Linked DNA regions of Homo sapiens: regions 2 and 3 are each linked to region 1. The links are contacts of gene promoters, found by promoter capture Hi-C in blood cells and fetal thymus (Javierre and others, 2016). All regions are on one chromosome and are shown on one strand. The core of a region is centred on a gene start or on the middle of the fragment in contact, and the rest is flanking DNA. Distances in the headings are between cores, read along the strand shown. Region 1 holds the start of CPA4 (carboxypeptidase A4). Region 2 has its middle 17 kb from the start of MESTIT1. Region 3 overlaps COPG2 (coat protein complex I subunit gamma 2).

Region 1 (2,700 bases), core at 1-2,500:
AGACACAGGTGTGAACAGAAGTCATCATCATAAAACTTAGTCAATCTCATATAAGTAATTACCTCAAAAAACAACCCCAAAGTCTCATTAGCCAGATAGTAAAATAGAAAGAAAACTAAGAGACAGATCCAAGAGATATAGGATTTTATTTGGAGATGAACTTGTGTTATAGCAAAAGGGTACGAGTTTTACGTTCAGAGTTCCAGCTCCCCTGCTTCCCAGCTAAGTGGCCTTGAGCGCGTTCCTTAACATTCTAAGGCTGATTTTTTTCATGTTTAAGTGGAAGAAAATAACACCCCTGCCTGGCAAAGTTGTTGTGTGATCAAAAAGATAATGTACATGAAAGCTCTTTGCAAATGGTAAAGTATTATGCAGTAATGAGTTATTATAATTCAGTCTTCTAACAGGGCACCATGGTATCCCTTTTATCTCTCCTACCACCCAAATGTCCTCTCCCCTGCAAACCTCAAAGTATTCTGCATGGAGCGTGTTGAGCACGTGTGTGTGTGCACACACACACGCGCACACACACACGGTGTTCAGGCATGTGTCTCTGCATGTCATTTTCATAGCTGTGTCTAGGCAAGACCTGTGAAATCTCCACGTCCCAGAAGCCAGTAAGAAAGCACCAGCTCAGAAGAGGGTGTAGCTCAGGGGTAGAGCATTAAACTGCAGATCAAGAGAAGGCACCAGCTCTGCAAAGCCTTCGCCATTAACAAAGAAGTGAAACCAACAAGCTTGAGACCCAGGGTTTCCCTTTATGCATGGCGGAAATTGGAAACAAACCATTTCTGGTAACCAGTAACTCTTAGTAATTAATAACGTAGCTCTTAGTAACCAGTAACTCTTAGTAATTAATAAGGTAGGAGTAAGAAAGTAGATGCCTGGAACTGACCTTATAAGTAAGAACTAGGCAGAAAAAGAACTGGCAGGAGATGAGGGAGCTGGGGAGAGACTGCAATGATCATCTAGTCCTGATTTCACAGATGAAATGGGGTCTCAGAGAAGAGAGTGGACTTGTCCAGGATGACACAGGGGCAAAGCTGGAACAAGAGCCCAGGTCTTCTTCCTCCATGTGAGCTATTATCAGCCATTCATTTTCAGTTCCATTTGGCTCCCATATTTCTGAAATAACCAAATAATAAGTCCAAAAGGAACTTACCCAAAAAATTTTTCTTGGCCACAGATGCTGGACCCAATAAGGGCCCCAATGAACAGTATCCACCTCATGTCCCCGGGGAGTCAGTCATACAGTGGCTGAGTCAAGCTGTATTTATAAAGAGTCTGAGAGTGACTCAAGTCCTCAAAAATGCTAATGTGATTCCCAAGCACCCTTGCAACTCTGACTGTGACAGGCAGGCCCTACCAATGCCTCTCCCATTCCTTTCAAGTGATAAAGGTTGAGCATCTCAATTTACAAGGTCAGGAACTTGCTCCAGGAGCTGAAAAAGTCTGTGCCAAGGGTACCATATTGCTCATCACTTGGCATTTAAATAGTGTTTTTTCAGTGAATAAGCTAATTCCACAGTGTTGGATGGAATTTATCCTGATAGGAGAGGTCAGATTATAAACCTGGCATAGAATTACCTCTAGAATAATAATAAAAAAGTTAAGACTATCAAAGCAAGACTGAGCTGGCTCCAAGACCACATGCTTGACAAGCCCTGCCAGAGAATTTCACCAGGGCAGGTCAGGATGAGGAAAGAGGTTTGGGGCCTCTTTTATGTATCTGAAGCCTAATTCTTCTGACTCCACTAAGGAAATAGAAATGTATCAGGCAAATGATATAGAAAGGATGTTTTAGTCTGAATAAATTATCAGTGTTCCTTGGGGTCTGATCTATGGGGAAGGCTTAATGGTTTTATCAATAATAAGATTTTCAGCCGGGCGAGGTGGCTCATGCCTGTAATCCTAGCACTTTGGGAGGCCGAGGTGGGCGGATCACGAGGTCAGGAGATTGAGACCATCCTGGCTATCACAGTGAAACCTCGTCTCTACTAAAAATACAAAAAATTAGCCGGGCGTGGTGGCGGACGCCTGTAGTCCCAGCTACTCAGGAGAATGGCGTGAACCTGGGAGGCGGAGCTTGCAGTGAGCCGAGATCGCACCACTGCACTCCAGCCTGGGCGACAGAGTGAGACTCCATCTCAAATAAATAAATAAATAAATAATAAGATTTTCTTATACTTCCTAGACTGTGGGTCTGGTGTCCTTTCCGCCAAGTCACAGCTGAATAAATGGAAGACACTCATATCTCCATAACGCCTTCAGGGGCTCTGGGACCTTTGAGTCTGTCCTGGGAGCCCCAGTTCCCACAGCCTTTCCCATCCCACCCTCCCTACGGTCTACATGCTTTCCACACCCACTCAAAGGGAGTGGACACAACCAAGGGTCATAGTTGAGAGAGTTAAAGAAAAACTATCCTGACCTGTGTTAAAATGTAAGACCTAATTCAAGATTATTATGATTAGGACCATGGCTATTTCAGTAGGAAAGACTTACTGTGCTTAACACTGAATACGGCAAAGAAAACAGAGAGGATCAGTGGGATTACTAAGAGAAGACATCAAGGTAGGGGGATTCTTGCTAAAAGCAGGCCAAGGACTTATACATCAAAGTCCCCATCAAAGGTGGGGATGAGGAACTTGATCAGATATCAAGGTGGGAGGGATGACTTCGCAGGATCTTTGCTCAGGCTGG
Region 2 (2,700 bases), core at 80-2,579, 180 kb before region 1:
ACAATTGCTGACTATGGACCAACACAGGGTTCCCAGTCAGCAGTGCTGGCCTCTGACCTGCAGCATCGGCATCACCTGAGGATTTGGTAATTTGCAAATGCTCCATCTTCCCAATCAGCAACTCTGGGGATGGAGCAATTTGTGTCTCAACAAGCCCTCAAAGTGATCCCGATGCACGCTAAAGTTTGAGAACCACCCCAAAAAAGCATCCCTGACTTGCTTCTCATGGCCGCTGAGTAGAAGCTTGCTGGGGAGCAGGGCTCCCTTGAAACCACTAGGTCAGCCTAGACAGGTAGACAAATGGCAAGACTCACTCAAGGGGAGACATAAGAAACCAAGCCTGGGTTTCACAGAGGCGTTGGACTGATGGTGGAAGAGATTTTAAGCAAGATTACCCAGCCCATAGAAGAGAGGTAGACAGGACTGGTTTAAGTAATAAGGCTCTGGGAAGAATCAGAATTCACTGATAATCTCTTCCCTATAGGAAAACTAGTTCTGGAAAACTACAAGTTTGTAAATGGAAGAATTAGCAAACTCAAGAACAAAAAAACAAGCAAATGTGACCTTATGATCTTAATAGCGAGCATGTCTACATATCAGAAGGCCCCCAGAAAATGGAAAAGGAACATTTTCAGCTTGGAGAGATCAGATAGTAAAGCAACAAGAAGCTTCAGACATCAGGAACCAAAAACATGCAGACATAGCTGGATGGGGTCAGGGCACTAATGGAGAAGATTGCAAATGACTGTAATTTGCAGAACTGTGAAGCCGTAAATTGCTCTGGGAGAGCTGCCTGCTATGAGTACAGCACTCTCCGCTCTCAAGATGAAGCAGCTGAAAGCTGTGGAATTGGTTAAAATGACTCCTGGAAAAAGAAACAAAGTTGTATATGAAGGCTAAGAGGTGGGGCCCAAAGCCATGAATATAGGCGCCTGGACCATGATCAGAGGTGAGACTATCTTCATGTTTCCGCAGTCCAGGGATGGAGTTTTACAGCTAAAAATTCAAGGGCATTAAAAACAAGCAAACAAACAAACTGCCAATTCTTGTCACCATTAAATTGTTAAAACTGTTATACAGAGACAGTGGAAGGACCTCAGCCTATTAGATCAGGGACTATATACAAGATACAGAGAGGGAACCAAAATTGTTGCTCTGGAAATGTTCTTAGCTTTGGAAATGACCAAAGGCAAACTAGGGACAAAATAGGGGCTTAAGAAAAGAGTAAAGAGACCCAGTACCCTTTCCAAGTTCTAACCCCACAAACTGTTGACACAGCAATAGGAAATAAAAGTGAACATGCACAGCCAAAATGAGGAAGAATAGAGGCACAGGAAATCCAAAAATGAGAACAAGGCAAGTAGGGGAGGCAGAGATAAATGACTGCCAGAGACCAACATCCACTTAAAGCTGTCCTCAGCCCTCTCTACATTTTTCATTTCTGGTGAGTTTTTAACAGCTTTATTGAGCTATAACTGTTGTACAATAAACCACATATATTTAAAGTGTGTAATTTCATGAATTTTGACATATGTGTATACCCCTGAAATCATCACAATAATCAAGATAATAAACAAAGCCATTACCCACTCCGCAAATTTCTTCATGGTCCTCTGTAATCCATCTGTCTTCCTTTTTCACAATCTGTTATTTGCTTCCCCCATCCCCAGGTAATCACTGATCTAATTTCTATCACTATAGGTTAGTTTTCCTTTTCTAGAATTTTATATAAATGGAACCATGCAGTATGTATTCTGTTTTGATTGGCCTCTTTGACTCAACATGATTTTGAGATCCATCATGTTGCTGGGTGTATAGATAGTGTATTATTTGTTACTGCTGAGTAGTATTCCTTATATGGAATCAACTATGTAGCCATCAACTACTTATTTATTCATTTACCTAGTGACTTACAGGAAGACATTTGGGTTGCTTCCATTTTGGATTGCTATAAATAAAGCTATTATGAACATTTGTGTACAAAGCTTTGTGTGGACATATTTCTCTTAGGTAAATACTGATGATATACTTTTTATTTATTTTTAGTTTTAATTGACATTTAATAACTTTACATATTCATGGGGTATGTAGTGATGTTTCAATGCATATAATGTATAGTGAGCCAATCAGGGTAATTAGCATATGCATCATCTCAAACATTTATCATTTCTTAATGTTGGGAACATTCAATATCCTCCTCTTAGCATTTAATACTACATAATAGGCCAGGCGCAGTGGCCCATGCCTGTAATCCTAGTGCTTTGGGAGGCCGATGCAAGAGAATGGCTTGAGACCAGGAGTTTGAGACTAGCCTGAGCAACATAGTGAGACCCCTCTTTTTACAAAAAAAAAAAAAAAAAAAATTTTAATTAGCCAGGTATGATGGCATGTACCTGTAGTCCTAACTGTTTGGAAAGCTGAGGTGGGAGGATTGTTTGAGCCCAGGAGTTTGAGGCTGCAGTGAGCTATGATCACAGCATGCATTCCAGCCTGGGTGACAAAGTGAGACCCTATCTCTAAGAAAAAGGGAAGGAAGGAAGGAAGGAAGGAAGGAAGGAAGGAAGGAAGGAAGGAAGGAAGGAAGGGAGGGAGGGAGGGAGGGAGGGAGGAAGGGAGGGATAAAAACTACATATTATTGTTAACTATGGTCACCTACAGTGGAATACAACACTGGAATTTACTCTTTCTATCTAGCTATAA
Region 3 (2,700 bases), core at 86-2,585, 220 kb before region 1:
CATACTCTCTTATGACTTTTGGCCCAGCAATGCTGTCTTACCTTCCTGTTGATGTGTGTCATTCCTTAGTGACCAACTCCTTTTCATCTGAGGACAACTCTAATGTTGCTTTCCAGTACCATTCCTCCTTCCCTTTCTGAATTTGTCCTAGAGAAAAACTCCCTCCCACCATTTGTACAGCATTCCCACAGACTCAACACGATTTTCCAGGTAGGTGTGTATTGCTTATTTTGGCACTCACTGCCCAGCTTTCCTCGATGTCCTACACACTATGCTGCACCCATTGCTTCTCAGTTCAGTCCAGACCTGCATAGACTGCTGCAGTTAGCCTGTACAGATCCATCTCTTTTGCCTTCTTTCTAATCTTTTGCCCTAGTGACATACCCTTTTCTTTAATTATTATTCTAACAAAGCTTTCTGGAAATACCTCATAAGTGTCTCTTACTTTGTCATGGTCTCCCCCAGGTGGTTGAGACCTGGCAGCTCCCTCCCACCTTTCCCACTCTGCCCTTTGCCACACTGCATTTTCTGTACCCTGGCCCAACTCACATGTCCCTCTCCTGTCTTAGCTGCCAGCATCTATCTTTTCTCTAATTCGCTGGGTTCTTTTCATACAAATCTCCTTAGTGGTTGACTCTCATTTTCAGTGAATCCTCACAAGACAAGCTTAATTTCAGAGAACAGTTTTAATGCAGATCTTCAGGGCATTCTTTCCTGATTCTCTTTGGTATTTGCCTTGCTTTGTCTGTGTAACTCTCATATTTACATTATGGCAGTGCATTCAGTATTTTCTTGCCATGGAAAGGCCCCCGCATCTTGCCTCCTCGCCCCATTTCGTCATCCTCTCCAGCAGCTTCGACAGATTACTGCCTAGACTTCCTTAGATCCCTGTAACCTCTCATTGTATCAATCAAACCATTTAAGTAAAAAAATTCCCACTAAGGTTTCAGGAACATTATCTCTACTAACACCATTCCTATTTACTTCCTTAATCTCTTTCTCTGTATCAGGTCCTTATATGTAAGTGTCTTCTGTCTTTACCTCCACATAAAACTCAGCCCCTGTGCCCAGTCTGTGATCTGCCTTCATACCTGATGTTGTCTCTTTGTCCTCCTCATTTGCTGTAGCCTCTCTGCTTAATTGGAACCACACTGGGTTGCTATAATTAATGTCTCTCCTGACTCTTCATTCTAACTTGATCATGACCTTTTCCCCTACCATATTCTGTATCTCTTTCATGGTTTAAAAAAAATGCCTCACCTGACCTGTTCTGGCCTTGTGTTAACTTTCACTTCTTTCCCCTTCTCTCTGAAGAAAATCCTATCCTAATTAAACCACAGTCGTTCTTTTCTCAACCCCTAATGGCATTGAAATTGATTCTGCAGGCTTGATAGGTTCATTCTTTCCTATATGGGAAAACCCACTGCCATCGTCTGTTTTCAGCATATTCTGTTGAATCCATCTGCTCTCTGAATTCAGACCCATTCTTCATAGTCCCCACCAGTGGCTTAAATTAGGCACCTTATCTAGCTTATCTCTAACCTTTCAATCTCTTGACTGCCTCAGCTCACCAGAGCCTGTTGGAAAATCATTTGAAATACAAGGTATTTTACAATTTATTCCTAAACAAATTATCTTCTCAGCACCTAGGCATTAGCATGCCTCTTACTGTTTCCAGCTGCCCGGTGGACTTTCTGGCCTCTTTCCTTTTGCCTGTTTGTACATCTTCCTCTGCTTGCCAAAGCTCTTTTGCATCTTTTGAGAGCCAGTTAAACTATTATATCGTTTCACATTTTTTACAGTTTTCCCAGGCTATTTGTTAATCCCGCACCCTCACATGGCACTCTCTTAAAACTTAAAGGATCTATGGCATTGAGTTGTAAAGTCATAGATAGATCACACACACACACAGCCCACACACTTATTTAACTCCTAGACAGCTCCTAGAGACAGAGATCATGTCTCAGTCATCTTTTTATCCAAGTGTCTGGCACATAAGCTTATACCTTTACGTGTAATGTCAACATGTATTGACAGTCACTACATGTGTGGATGGATGAATGGATGGAATTTAAAGTCAAGACTGAGCAGATGAAAGTCTTATTACCCAATCTGTCGTATATGGTCTTCACATCTGAGCCTGTTCTTTCCTCTCCTTGCCTATCCCCCAAATAACTTTTTAACTCTCCCAATATCTAATATTTTTTGTACCTATAAGCTTTTTCCAGACCATAGACAAGATCCTAAATGCCTTTTCTTCATCCCTGCTTGCTAAATCCCCTCCTTCAAACATTTCAGAAAATACTGTCTTTACTTTTTATAAAGACTTCACTTTCCAAAAATGTACCCCCACCTCCATTTCTTATTACTTAACACCACTTGTGTGAAAACATACAACTGCCCACTTGCTTTTCCATTTAAGACACTGACTTTACCAATACTAGAAACTCATTACTGACCTACTCACTTTAGGCTGAAGGTTGACAGATAAAGCAAGTTCTCTCTGGTGATCTGTGGACCCGCCATCAGTCCACAATCTAAAGATAGTATTGAGATGCTGATGAGATTGGTCAATGTTAATCTGATGATCTGTATGCTTTTTACCACAGGTTTTTTTTTTGTTTTTTTTTTTGGTCAGGTCCTACAGCAGTGGTTCTCAAAATATTTATTTTTCAACATTTAGGCCCCTTTGATAGGCAT

The links. Contacts are between HindIII fragments. The CHiCAGO score rates a contact against its expected background, and 5 or more counts as called.
Region 2: a contact is called between a fragment that was not itself captured here and the fragment with the promoter of CPA4 in region 1, in 1 of 17 cell types (endothelial precursors). The highest score is 5.1, in endothelial precursors.
Region 3: a fragment that was not itself captured here is called in contact with the fragment with the promoter of CPA4 in region 1 in 2 of 17 cell types (megakaryocytes and M0 macrophages); the score reaches 6.3 in megakaryocytes.

What each region holds. Positions count from the first base shown.
Region 1 is chr7:130,291,711-130,294,410 of GRCh38, reverse strand. It overlaps CPA4 (carboxypeptidase A4), which reads right to left and starts at 1,250. Exons shown (of 11, transcript NM_016352.4): 1 at 1,163-1,250. The coding sequence starts at 1,230. RefSeq lists an enhancer at 756-845. The HindIII fragment of the contact is 9,413 bases long and covers 740-2,700 here.
Region 2 is chr7:130,472,138-130,474,837 of GRCh38, reverse strand. No RefSeq gene overlaps it. Among named protein-coding and RNA genes, the nearest start is that of MESTIT1, 17 kb to the left of the region's middle. The HindIII fragment of the contact is 1,317 bases long and covers 671-1,987 here.
Region 3 is chr7:130,508,961-130,511,660 of GRCh38, reverse strand. All of the region lies in intron 20 of COPG2 (coat protein complex I subunit gamma 2), which reads left to right. Among named protein-coding and RNA genes, the nearest start is that of MIR335, 14 kb to the right of the region's middle. The HindIII fragment of the contact is 1,333 bases long and covers 669-2,001 here.